Regions from separate parts of the Homo sapiens genome. Here region 1 is linked to region 2. Evidence: promoter capture Hi-C in 16 types of primary human blood cells and fetal thymus (Javierre and others, 2016). All regions are on one chromosome and are shown on one strand. The core of a region is centred on a gene start or on the middle of the fragment in contact, and the rest is flanking DNA. Distances in the headings are between cores, read along the strand shown.

Region 1 (6,963 bases), core at 3,822-6,321, 140 kb after region 2:
GAGAAACTCAAGAATGCTAGATTCATTTAGTTTCATTTGCTGCCTTTAGTAAGCGATTACTAGGTGTTAGACACTGTGCTAGCTACTTTTCAAACATTTTATTTTAATTTTCAACAGCTCAATGAGAAAGCTATAACAATAACAAACAATAATAACAGCAATAGGAATAGTTGGCATTTATTGACTAGTTACAACGTGCCAGGCACTATTTTATGCACTTTCATCACTTAATCCATGCCCAAACCAATGAAATAGATAAAACTATTGTCCCCATTTTATAAATGAGGAAACTGAGGAATAGAGAGACTAAATCACTTGTCCAAGGTCACCTGGCTAAACTCAGGCAGTCTGGCTGCAGAGCTTTACCTCTTAACCAATATACAATACTGCCTCCCTTGCAGTAAGCTGTACTTTGAGGATGAAGAATGTTGGGCTTAGTGAAGTTACAGAACTTGCCAAGGTCACATCCTAGTAAGTGATAGCTATGGATTTTGAACCCAAGTTCATCTGACTCCTGATCCTGATTCCCTGGTGGCAGATGCTATCAGCTGATAGCCTCTCTGAAAATCCTGTTGGACATGAAAGTTCACAGTGAGAGAGGGTAGGCAACATCATCTTAGAAGAGAATGGCCAAATTATTCTGTAGGCCATGTATTTTCTCCTTTTGCTCCATTCTACCTTTCAGATGGAACTATTTTACTCTGTGTAACACTTGAGTGCTTGTTTCCTTCCATTCCTTGAGAACACTGGCCACTTCTTGTCCTTCTCTGTATCTTGAGCACCTAACACAGTGCTAGGAAGTAGGTGCTTAATAAGTGCTTGTGGAATGCTAAAAGATTATTTAACCTCTTTCCTAGAAACGAAGACCCAGATTCATAGGAGCTTAACCTAATGCATGAAAAAGAGAGATCTCAACACATCCAGTGTCAAGTAGGGTACCCCATCCTAGTCAATATATTTTTCATCATGACAAATAAGGTGAGAAAATACATGGTTAAATTATATACATTGCTCAAAACAAAATACATAGATCTAAACTGGTGAGCTTTAATTGATTTTTGATAAGTATTGAAATAAATATATCAAGAAAGTTAAATGTTGTTTTTTTAAAAAACAGCTTTTTAATAACACAGTGATTAATGGCAAGTGATAGGTAAATATTACTGAAACAAAGAGATACAAACTAAATCTGACTTTTGATGTGATATGCAACTATATCAATAACGCTATATGCAAATTCATCAAAACTAGAAATTTTCTGGTTCTGGTTCTGTCCTCATCCCTTCCTCATCCACCATCCCTGCAAAAAAAAAAAAAAGGAAAAAAAAAGACCCAAGAAGTTTCTAAACTTTTAAAATTGTTGTGAAGAGGGAAGTAAAGACTATGGCTGACAACTATTTAAAATGAGGGAAACTCAATGGAGCACAGAGAACTTTGTTTTAGACATTGTATTAGTTTCACTGCTATAAAGAACTACTGGAGACTAGGTATTTTATGAAGAAAAGAGGTTTAATTGACTCACAGTTCCACAGGCTTAACAGGAAGCAGGACCGGGAGGTTCTCAAGAAACTTACAATCATGGCAGAAAGCAAAGAAGCAAGTACCTTCTTCCCATGATGGTGTAGGGGGAGAGAGGAGAGGGAAGTGTCACACACTTTTAAACCATCAGATCTTATGAGAACTCACTTACTATCATGAGAGTAGTAAGGGGGAAATCTGCCCCCAAGAGCCAATCACCTCCCACCAGGCCCATCCTCCAATTCGACATGAGATTTGGGTGGGGAAACAAATCCAAACCATATCAGATGTTCTGACTAAAAGGACCTATTATGTTTTGCATTTAGTCTGTAACTCCGCATCATGTCATGAATCACATTGCTGCCAAGAATGTGTAGTGAGCTAAATGCATTGCAGGAGTCAAATTACAAAGGAAAATCTCCATTGTCTTCAGATACTCTCTTGAGGTCTTAGATAACCTCTTCTCAGCCCTCACATCTCCATTTCAACTAAAGGGGATTGAAGGAGAAGCAGAATGTTTTCTCTGTGCAAGTAATTTTAATCCTTTATCAGAACTCAAGACTGTCCCACCGGGGGTTGGAGGCTAAGGGCAAATCACACTGTGTACCTTGTTCCTTCTCCAGTACCTTGTTCCAACTCCACTTGCCCTTCCCTAGCCCATTTCAGTAAACAGATAAAACTGGATTTAAGTAAGCCTCAAGGAGAATCTTGCAAGAGAAGAATCATAAAGCAGTAAATTGTAGCAATTAATTACATGCATTTTTAATGAAACTTAGGTTTTTTTTCTTTTTTTAGCACTATCTTCATTTATTCCCACCACTACTCCTAGAGTTACTAGTATCTTTGGCTTTCTGAAGACTAGGGTAATTACAAAGCCCCGGTCAGGGCAGTGGTTTTTATTAATGGTAGCCTGAGTAGGATATATTATTAATAGTTAAGAATATAAGCTTTATAACTGACTGACCCAGGTTTGAATCCTGACCTTTTTACTTTGTGGCCTTGAACAAATTATTTAACCTCTCTAATTCTTAGTTTTTTAAGTCAGTTAAATAAGGTAATAATACCTATTTCATAAGATTTGTTTGAGAATATTAAATAAGAACATTGCATAAAGCATGATGCATGCTACATTGTAAATACTCAACATGGTAGATGTTAATATTACTATTATTATGATATTTTATTCATTCAATAAAGGTTGTTGATAAATTATGAATCCAGAAATTGTGCTGACTGGACTCACTTTAAATTTGTAACTACAAATCTCAAATGACTCAAAATAGTCCCAGATTATTCTATCTCATTGCCCTGGTAACTTCATTTTCCTCCTTTCCAAGAGAGCTATTTCACAATGTTCTCTTCTCTCAAATCCCCATACCTCCCACATACACACACACTCACACTCAACTGATACTCATACTCAGACTTTCGTCATAGACAATAAATGTCAACATGCAAAATGCCCTCTTTCTCATCACAAAATCCACTTGCCTTCCTACATCCTTGTTTATGAACTTTGTCTTCCCTCCTTTTTCAGGAAAACAGAGTTCCTGCCCCTTTGGCCACCCTCCCCTGCACCTGGAACATATCCTCTCGGGCCTTCCCAGGCACCGCACTTCTGTACTCATGTACGGGCTTCTTCTGTTCACTAGAACTTCAATTCTGGAGTGTCCCAGGCTCTGCCCAGCCCTCTCTCCTTCTCTATTTATGCTATCCCCCTAAATGATTCGACCAACTCTGAGGGCTCTTAATATCATCTATGCTTTAATGATTGATCTCCAGTCTTCCTCATTTCAGTAAATATTACCAACATCTACCCCATGTCTTCAGCGAAAAACCCAGGAGCCCACATCTAATCTGTTCAACAAGTCTTGTATGTCTTACTGGCTAACTCCAAACATACCTTAAGTCTAACTACTTCTGACAAACTTCATTACTACCACCATGGTCCCAACTACCATTATTTCTCTCTAGATCAGGGTTTCTCAGTCTTGGCATTATTGACATTTTGACCAAGTGATTCTTTGTTCTGAGGGCTGTCCTGTGCACTGTAGGCTGTTCAGCAGCAGCCCTTCTCTCTACCCACCAGATGCTAGTCACATTCCCACTACACAGTTATGAACACCAAAAATCTCTCCAGACGTGGCCAAATGTCCCTTATGGGGCTTGGGGGGGTCGAAATCACTCCCAGTTGAGAACCACTTCTCTGAATTAGTGCCAGCAATCTCTTAATTTGTCCCCCTGTCCCACTCTTGCCCTTCTAAAATCTACATCCTATACAGCATCCAGAGTGATCTTATTAAGCATATGAATCGTCATATCCCATCCCCGGTGAAAACATTTCAGAGGCTTCCTTTGTACTTAGTCCACAGCTCAAGATTCTGGCATTATTTCCTTCTACTCTCACCTTCAGTTACTGCTCTGCAGTCCTCTGGCATTCTTGTCATCCCCCAAACTTGCCAAGTTTATTCCTATATTGGGGCCTTTGCCCCTGATGTTCTCTCTGCCTGAAATTCTCTTCCCACAGAGCATGCCTTAACAACTCATCATTCAAACCACACCTCACATCCTCCTCCAGCTTTTCCTGAACCACCAGTGAAAGAAGTCTCCTATAGCTACTCTCCATCACATTACTCTATTTTCTTTATCGGGGCCAGAGATTATATCACGTATTTTCACCAACTTATTGTCCTCCTGTGAAAATATTTACTCCATGAGAGGAGGGGCTTTATTTGGACTTGTTTGCCTTTTGCCACTTTAACATTAATTTCCTGAAAAGTGCCTGACCAAAACAAGGATCTGGAAAATATGAACCAATATATTTTTGTCTGATTAATTAGCTGATTAAACACCTATGTGATTCAGCTTTGGGGTTTGGGGGCTGTGGCTAGAAAAATAAATAATAAGACACGGCTCCTGCCCTCAAGGAGTTAGATCCAATGGAGGTTTTGGAGAAGTAAAAAGGAAATTACAATATAGAATACGAAGTGCTACAATAGAGGGAAGCTTAACTCAGATCTAGGGCTTCAGAGACTTCCTAGGGAGGGTGACATGAGCAAATGCATCCAGAGGGGTGAGTGAGAGTTAGCTGGGTTAGTGGGTGCTAGAGTCTGAATTGTGTCCCCTCCCAAGTTCATATGTTGAAGCTCTAACTCCCAGTACCTCAGAATATTACTGTATTTGGAGATGGGGCCTTTAAAGAGGTAATTAACTTAAAATGAGGCTGTTAGGTTGAGCTCTAATCTAATCTGACTGATGTCTTTATTATAAGAAGAAGAAATGTGGATACTCAGAGAGACATCAGGGTTGTACACACAAAGGGAAGACCATGTAAGGCACAACAAGAAGGCAGCCATCTATAAGCCAAGGGGAGAGGACTGGAACGGATCTTCCCTCATAGCTCTCAGAAGAAACTGCCCCTGCTGACGCCTTGATCTTAGACTTCCAGCCTCCAGAACTGTGAGAAAATAAATGTCTGTTGTTTAAGCCACCCAGTCTGTGGTCCTTTTTAGGGTAGCCCTTGCAAATGAATACAGCAGAGTGGGAAACTGAGGTGTGTGGGTGGGGTGGGAAGCACCTGGGTGTGGAGCACAAGCTGTATGGTTGTTAGAGGGGAGGCTGGAGAGGTTGGGAGGTCTGAGCTCATTAGGCCTGACCAAATAAAGGCCAGGATAGGAGTGTGAGCACTATGGTGAAGATTCTCAAGAACACTGAAAAATCACAAGCAGCACAGTAAGGTGATCAGACTTGCCTCCGAGAAGAATTTTAGTGGTAGCGTGATGAGTAGAGTGTAGGTGAGGAACACCAGAGATCCTGAGAGCAACAAGGAAGCATGTAGCTTTGCAGTCCAACAGACTGAGGTTCCCATCCAGGCTCTGCCATTTAGAATCCCTATGACTTTGGACAAGTTCTTACCCCTCTTTGGCTTCTGTTTCCTCATTTGTAATTATAGGTATGATTCTTACCTCAGGGGATAATATGAGAATTAAATAAGACAGCATGTGTAAAATACTTGGCATAATACTTGACAAATTAGAAACAACGATTGCCGGTAGCTATTAGAATATCCAAGGCAGTAATAGTAGAGCTGGGAAAAAGGGACAAGCTTGAGCTATCTTAAAGATGAATAATCTTTAAAACTTGGCCATTGATTTTATGTTTGGTGGTGTGAGAGAAGATGAAGTAAAAAATAACATCTAGACTTTTGAGTCGGGCAGGTTTTGGATTGTAATGTCATTCACCAAAGTAGGAAATGAAAACAAAGAACCAGGGAGGGGAAGAGGATGAGTTTAATTTTGGATACGTTGAGTTTGAGGGATACTTGGTACATATCAGAAGAGTATCTCATAGAGAGTTGAATATAGAGATCTAGATTCAGGAAAGAGGCTTGGGCTAGAGACATAGACTAGATTGATAAAGCATTTCATTGAAAGTGTGCAGAGTGAGAAGAGAAGCAAAATAGAGGTAGAACTCCAGGGACATATCCACCATCAGAAGAAGAGAAGACAGGATAGGAGGCTAAAAAGGAGCCTACAAAGAGAAAGGAGAAAAAGAAAAAGTGAAGTCAAAGGGAGGAAAGACATTTGAAAAGAGAGTAGTTAACAGTGAAAAAGCCAAAGAGAAATCAAATAAGGTAAGAACCAAGCCATACCCACCAGACTGTGTAATGCCTAGATATCAGGCAAGACTTGGAAAAGGATGATTTTAGGGAGTGATAGGGATATAATCCCTATTGTAATGAGGTAAAGAAAAAATGAGAGGTGGGGAAGTGAATATTGTGAGCTTTATTGTTCCATTTTTATTTTATTTTATTATTTTAGAGATAAGGTCTTACTATGTTTCCCAGGCTGGTCTTGAACTCCTGGGCTCAAGTGATCCTCCTGCCTCAGCCTCCCAAAGTGCTGGGATTGTAGGCATGAGCCACCACACCTGGCCAATATTGTGAGTTTGAGAATGAGAGACAGAGAGAGAAAGAGAGAGAGAGAGAGAGAGAGAGAGAGAGAGAGAGAGAGAGAGAGAGAGAGAGATAAACTCTGTCTGTAGAAGAAAAATCCTTTTGTTCCCTCACCCTTCATAACTCCTTGTTTCCCACCATCCTAACCTGTATTCAGCCCAGGGGTTCTTAACCCTTAACCTTGGGTTCATAGATCCACCTCAAGTGGTTCACAAATAGAATTTAAGGGATCTATGTAATTTCAGAAAAAAATTACAACTTCAATTTCACTCGACTGAAATCTAGCATTTTCACCAATTGTGAATTTAGGCAAAAACTACAGAAGATCAGCAGTACCTGTGACTGTCAAAAATATTTTTTCATATCATGTTACAGTTGTCGCAGATTTCTCAAAATATCATTTACACTCTTCACTTTTATGAAATTATAAGTTATTTTAAGTCTGCTGCTAGATCTTATAAATAGTTTTAAATATTTTGATAACTATATTT
Region 2 (7,374 bases), core at 2,393-4,892:
GAAAGTCCTTTTTACAATCAACTTAATATGATTGTATCTTTTTTTAATTATTATACTTTAAGTTCTAGGGTACATGTGCACAATGTGCAGGTTTGTTACATAGGTATACATGTGCCATGTTGGTTTGCTACACCCATCAACTTGTCATTTACATTAGGCATTTCTCCTAATGCTATCCCTCCCCCAGCCCCCTACTCTAATTATTACCATATACCATTTATATAGCATTTTACTATATTTATTTTAAGAGATTTCATATGATCAGTGTTGATTGATAGTCATAAAATGATATGAATCACTTGAAATAATACTATCTGAGCATTTGTAAATCTGCTCTGAGAGGCTACATATAGTTGTACAAGGTTTCACAATTCCTAGGTAGAATACCTGGACTTGAAGACAAGACTATTAGACTCTGAGTCCAGATCTCCTTTAAATTGTTATATATTCAATCAGTAGGGATTTACTGAGCTCCTAGTATCTACTGGTTACTATGTTAAAAGTGCTGAAGCACTAATGGTGAACAAGACATAGACATTCTTGGTTCCTCTAGAGCTAATAATCTGGTAATTGCCTACATATGAGTTGTACTTTTAGCTTTTGGTATAGCACAGAGTAATAAGTAAATTCCTTCCCCTGTGCATTAATCATTCAGTTATCACATTGCTTCATGGGTGCCTCTTCTCTAGACAAAATATGTCCTTTTTCTTCAACATAGGAGCTATTACTTTTCTCTGGACACCCTTAATTTCGTCAGCATCTTTCTTAAGGAGTGGCATTCTGAATTAGACACCCAGGCTCCCAGTATGATCTGGTGGGTGTGTAGTGCTCAGAGACTGTGGCCTCAGAAGACTTGAAGGTTGAATTACTAGGAGTGCAACCTGGACTCATCACAGCTATTTTGATTTCTCATGGCAGTGTTCATTTTTATGGTTCGTAAAATCACAAGACCTTCTTTCTGTGAATTGTGACCAAGTCAGATCTCTCCCATACTGTACTCAAACATTGGAAACATTTAAATGCTGACCTTTAATGCATTCCTATTAAATTTTACTTCGTCATCTGGAATATTATTACATACCTTGAGGTCTTCTTTATCTTGCTTCTCTCATCTCTAAGGTTGTCTTTCCCAGTTTTGCATTATTAATAGGTTAGATAATCACGTGCTGTATTAGTTTGTTTTCACACGCTGATAAAGACATACCCAAAACCAGGAAGAAAAAGAGGTTTAATGGACTTATAGTTCCACCTGGCTGGGGAAGCCTCACAGTCATGGTGGAAGGCAAGGAGGAGCAAGTCACGTCTTACATGGATGGTGGCAGGCAAAGAGAGAGAGCTTCTGTATGGGGAACTGCTCTTTTTAAAACCGTCAGCTCTTGTGAGACTTACTCACGATCATGAGAACAGCACGGGAAAGATTTGCCTCCATGATTCAGTTACCTCCCACAGGGTCCCTCCCACAACACATGGGAATTCAAAATGATATTTCAGTGGGGACAAGGCCAAACCATATTATGTGCTTTATGCTACTAATAAAAAGGTTAAACCGAACAAGTTCAAAGACAAAACTCAGTAGTACTTTATTCAGACAGGTTAGTCTAAATCTGTTAACCTTATACTTGCAACTCTGATCATTCATTAATTCTGCAAATTTTAATAAATGCTTTATTTTAAGCTAAATGCTGAGATGAAAAAATGAAACCATATGAGTTAGCAAAGTAGAAAATATAGGCATATTAATCAGTAAATGCAGAATGATAAATGCTCCATCAATATGCACTTGTTGTAGTGAGGCCACCGAGGAGGGTGCAATCCTCTCAACCTGGGAGGAGCAGGTAGGACTTCAGATGTCATCCAACTCAAAGATATAGTGAGGGACTTGATCAAACATTTGCCAAGACCACTATGAGTTAAATGAATAGATTAGGCATTTCTCCAATGTTGCAAGCTTCGAATCATATCCAAACTCAGAACAACATAGCTTGGTCATAATGATCCCAAGGATCCTATTGGCCATTGTCTTTGAGCCTCAAAGGAACATATTAAAACTCCATAATACCCTTTTGATCTATTCTGAAGTTAAGTAGTGAATTTACATGATGATGACACAAACACTGTAAAGGACCTCTGGGTTACTTGTTTATAAGCTAGTATTTCCTGAATCAATTTTTCTGATCCCTAGATATTTGGTAGGTGAAGTCATACCTATATATCCCCACACCCTAGAACAGCATCTCCAACTTATTTTTCCCTCCTTGTCTTTTAGTGGGAGCCACATCAGTATCCAAGAGGAGATCCAGAAGCCTCTCCAACCAGGTAGGGACAGTTATAGATTCCAGACCTCAGCTATGGCCTTTGTTACAGAGTACAAATGTTATATAGTACAAGTTTATTGTACACATCCCATTGAGTCTCTGAGCTTTAGAATTTTCTTGTAGAATTTAACAGTTTTTTCATGCCGTATTTACATATTATTGCTAGTATTTAGAATTTTCTTCTCCAAATGTATAACGTTTATTATTGCATTTTTTGTATCCACTAAGTGGAAAATCATGCATTAGATATTGTAGAAGTAGATACAACAATGAACAAGAACTGGTCCTGACCATGAGAGGAACTGATGATCCAATGGGGGAGATAGACCTGCACGTGTTTAATAAAAGGAAGTGGCTATTCCGGTTTCTTTTTGATGGGCAAGCATTTTGCAAGGCCTTGGGCTATGTGTGTGCAAGGCTAAGCCAGTTAGTTAATTGGGATTTTTTTAAAAAGGCACTTCACTGGGGGGAAAAGGAACATAGAGTTGGTTATTGTCCCCTTGCCTATAATAAAAACCTATTATTTTTAATTTTTTAACTGGGTTTGCGGTTAAATCTCACAGCCCAAGAGATTTGCCACTTCAGATGGATTCCATACACTTGCATTTAAGTATGCAAAAAAATTCCAATTATCCAGCAATTTAACCAAATTATTGGTAACTTTTCTAAAACAAAAAAAAATTGTTTCCCTTGTTTTGGCAGCAATTTCAGTTACAGTCCTTTACTTTCTACTCAAGAAAATAGTTTCAAAAAGTTGATGTTTGTTGCTAAAAGAACTATTTTTATGAATAAATATAAAACTAAGAAGTTATGGTGTCCCTTTTTTAAAAAATGACTCATCAAAAGAAATAACTTTTTCCTTTCTCTTGTAAGAGAAAAAAATTAATCTCTTTTAGAATTGCAAACATATTTCCTTGATGGAGAAAATCAATTCACATGGCATAGTCGTTATTTATCCAGTTCAAAAACCAGAGTAGAATTTACTACTCTGTCTCCATTTTTTCTCTCCCCACCCCCTTAACCCACATTGGATTCAGAAAGCTTCATTCTGCAATCAGCATTGTCCTTTATCTTTCCAGTAAAGATAGCCTTTTGGAGTCGAAGATGAGGAAAAGCCTGTATTTTATAGTCTTGGAAGTGTCTTCTTTTGCCAGGACAGAGAGAGGAGCTTCAGCAGTGAGAGCAACTGAAGGGGTTAATAGTGGAACTTGGCTGGGTGTCTGTTAAACTTTTTTCCCTGGCTCTGCCCTGGGTTTCCCCTTGAAGGGATTTCCCTCCGCCTCTGCAACAAGACCCTTTATAAAGCACAGACTTTCTATTTCACTCCGCGGTATCTGCATCGGGCCTCACTGGCTTCAGGAGCTGAATACCCTCCCAGGCACACACAGGTGGGACACAAATAAGGGTTTTGGAACCACTATTTTCTCATCACGACAGCAACTTAAAATGCCTGGGAAGATGGTCGTGATCCTTGGAGCCTCAAATATACTTTGGATAATGTTTGCAGCTTGTAAGTTATTTCCCTTCATCTGTTTCAAATGTTAGCATTCAATTTTAGCCCTGGTTTTGGCTTCAGTCAGTTTTGCGATAGTAGTGAAGTAAAGACACTAGGATTTTAAACAGTAGGAAAAGTTAATTTAGTCTAACTTTTAATATGCAATTGAGTTTTGCTATATACCATTGTACTGTCATAGTTAGAGCTGAAAATTGATGTTTTTGGTATCTTTTTTTCCAAAGGCAATTGAGTAATTTGGATTCTGTCTCTAGTCGGTCTGTCTCTTTAGTTTCCTATACTTGACAATGAGGTCAAACTTAGCAAATAACAAAACAGCTTTGATAAATGGGCATCAAGGTTGGAACTGAGAATTCTCTCTACTGAAGATGATTCCATAAACTTTTTTGGCAGTGACTTCGGTGCTTTTTGGCTACCTTGCAGTTAGTTTGAAGCAGCTTAGGAAAGAGATCAGTCTGATCATATTTTAGACATTATACAGAGAAGAAGGAGGAGAATACTAGACAAACTAGTGGTAAATTTGCTTCTGTCTTTTTTTGCTTTTGCAGCTCAAGCTTTTAAAATCGAGACCACCCCAGAATCTAGATATCTTGCTCAGATTGGTGACTCCGTCTCATTGACTTGCAGCACCACAGGCTGTGAGTCCCCATTTTTCTCTTGGAGAACCCAGATAGATAGTCCACTGAATGGGAAGGTGACGAATGAGGGGACCACATCTACGCTGACAATGAATCCTGTTAGTTTTGGGAACGAACACTCTTACCTGTGCACAGCAACTTGTGAATCTAGGAAATTGGAAAAAGGAATCCAGGTGGAGATCTACTGTGAGTGCTTTAGAAAATCTTTGTTTTTCTCTCAATTTTACTTTAAAATCACTTTTTAAAAATGATATTTTAAAAAAAGTTTTAAAATGGATATTCATGTACAGATTCTTGGCTAAAGAACATACAACATCAGGAAAGCTAGGGACAGCTAAGGCCAACATGAGAGAGAGCAGGAATCCAAATCTTGGCTTCTATTTCTACCTCTGCCACAAACACAGTGACCATGTATAAGACTCAACCTCTCTGGGCTCTGGTTTCCTTAGCTGTAAAATGATCATTTCTAAGTTTCTTTTTGTTTTATTAAAAAATATTTCCATTTGATTACATCCTTACATGTTTACTTGCTTATGTGTCTGATTGATTTATGAATTCCATCCTTCAGGGATTTTCTATTCATTTATTCTTATGCAATTTGATGCTTAAAATTAGTTTAAACATTAAGTAGATCTATAATTAGTAATATGTATTAGTATAAAAGTGTTCTTCTTAGACATAATTGTTAATATCTGGAAACATTTCAATCATTTGACTTTGGTGTTGACACATTTAGGATTTTTTTTTGGTTTTTTTGGTGCCATGAAGCCTTGGTGCTCAACCGCTCAACTTCAAAGATATTTATATAATGAACTAGATTTGCCTCATGAAAGTGAGTGGATGTCCCTAGTTTACCAGCCTGACAAAATGCATCCCACTCCATTCTCCATTCAGCAAACAAAGTTAGCAAGAGGAGTAAAAAACTAACCAGACATAAATCATTTGCCTTTTGTTACTGATGGCCTCTCTTTCTAAAAAACTGAACCCATTTACGGTCATGTCTTCATGAAGACCTCATTTGATTATAATTACTTTGGTTTCGTTTTATTGTACCGGAGCTCAACTTTTCCCAGTAACCTTAATTGATTCTGCAACAAACCGCATGTGTTGCTCAAGCTTCCCAAGAAACTGTGCTTGGCCGGCTGCTTTCAATTATGCTGGTTGTATGTGCATAGTTTATGTCTGTGCAGCCTCCCGAGCTCCTTGAAAGCTTCCCTTATGTAAATACAGGGAAAAGTAGCAAGTTCTTATGTTACCTGACATCGAACTGTGTGGATTAGAGGAACATTTCTTACAGAATATGAGGGACAGAAATTATTGCTGGAAAAATGAAAAATACCATGTTTCTTCACATAGGAAAGAATTTCCAGCTCCTTTGTCTTTTGCCCACTAGTACCAAATAGTTGAAGATTTAAGAAAGAGAAATGAAGACGCTTCTGGTTTTAATTATCTTGCCTGAGGTTTTTCTCCAAGAGTGTCTGTTTCTCATTATGTATAACAGTTCTGTCTCCTTTCCGCATTTGATTGTAATAGTGGTTAGAGTTGAGACCTTTGTATTCTTTTTGCTACACAGTTTTGAATCCACCAATATGTTACTTCATCATAATGCATAATGAAAAAGGTAACTCTTGCAAAGGAGGCAATGGCCACGTGAAGTAGTGTATTTCCTTGTACTAGAAGCTTCAATGGAACACTTGTTGGGATAGTGAGTTAGGCATTTCAGGAGGCAAATATGTGTTCCAGAACATAAAGATTGCACAAATGTATCTTTCTGGTGGATGAATTCCTGTCAGAGGCACCATTTTCAGAAGCTAATTACTTAAAGTTGGTCTTCTCATTTCTTAGAATATCTTGACAATAACTATTCTTTGCAATGACATTCCAAGGCTTACAGTCATTATCTGTAAAATGGAAATATATCTGCCCTGACTATAATAAGAAAATGTGATGTAACATAATGTAAATCTGTAGTAGCAAAACACAATAATGGAAATCCTGAGTTTAAATCCCAGCTTTACCATTTACTAGGTGTGTGACCTTAGACAAGTTATGTAAATGTACTAAGTCCAGGTCTTCTTTTCTGTGAAATGTGATCTCTATCTCCTAGAGTTATTGTGAGGATAAAATGAAATCATTCATGTTAAATCTATAGCACAGTGACAGCCACATGTAAGGTTCAATATAAACATTATTTTTTCTTCTTTCTTTTACTGTAATAACATGCAACTCTTAATATATACAGGATCAGAATTGAATAATGTTGTAAAAAATGTTTGCTTCCAATTCTTGTGCCTTGAACTCACCCCAAATCATGAAAGGCTATTCAAACAGTTCTGTCGTATTAAGACTGTATTAACAAAAACGCTAGACTTGATTTGTATTGTGTTAAAGTGGTAAGAGACCTTATATCACATTAGCAAAAAGCCCATCCATGTATTTGTTTGGCCTTTTCAGCTTTTCCTAAGGATCCAGAGATTCATTTGAGTGGCCCTCTGGAGGCTGGGAAGCCGATCACAGTCAAGTGTTCAGTTGCTGATGTATACCCATTTGACAGGCTGGAGATAGACTTACTGAAAGGAGATCATCTCATGAAGAGTCAGGAATTTCTGGAGGATGCAGACAGGAAGTCCCTGGAAACCAAGAGTTTGGAAGTAACCTTTACTCCTGTCATTGAGGATATTGGAAAAGTTCTTGTTTGCCGAGCTAAATTACACATTGATGAAATGGATTCTGTGCCCACAGTAAGGCAGGCTGTAAAAGAATTGCAAGTCTACAGTAAGTACTTGTGCGATGTGTTCCAGTCTTTGTGGGAATCCCACCTTGGTTGTGTATAGCAATAAACTTAGCAGAAAAGTAAAAAAAAAAAAAACTTGTATATAGTTTGTATTCCATTTGTATTCATTCACAA

The links. The method cuts DNA at HindIII sites, captures the fragments that hold promoters and counts their contacts. A CHiCAGO score of 5 or more calls a contact.
Region 1: a fragment that was not itself captured here is called in contact with the fragment with the promoter of VCAM1 in region 2 in 5 of 17 cell types (endothelial precursors, M1 macrophages, M2 macrophages and 2 more); the score reaches 9.4 in endothelial precursors.

What each region holds. Positions count from the first base shown.
Region 1 is chr1:100,858,684-100,865,646 of GRCh38, forward strand. No RefSeq gene overlaps it. Among named protein-coding and RNA genes, the nearest start is that of EXTL2, 33 kb to the right of the region's middle. The HindIII fragment of the contact is 1,099 bases long and covers 4,523-5,621 here.
Region 2 is chr1:100,716,100-100,723,473 of GRCh38, forward strand. It overlaps VCAM1 (vascular cell adhesion molecule 1), which reads left to right and starts at 3,643. Exons shown (of 9, transcript NM_001078.4): 1 at 3,643-3,825; 2 at 4,377-4,652; 3 at 6,921-7,241. The coding sequence starts at 3,762. The HindIII fragment of the contact is 1,026 bases long and covers 3,355-4,380 here.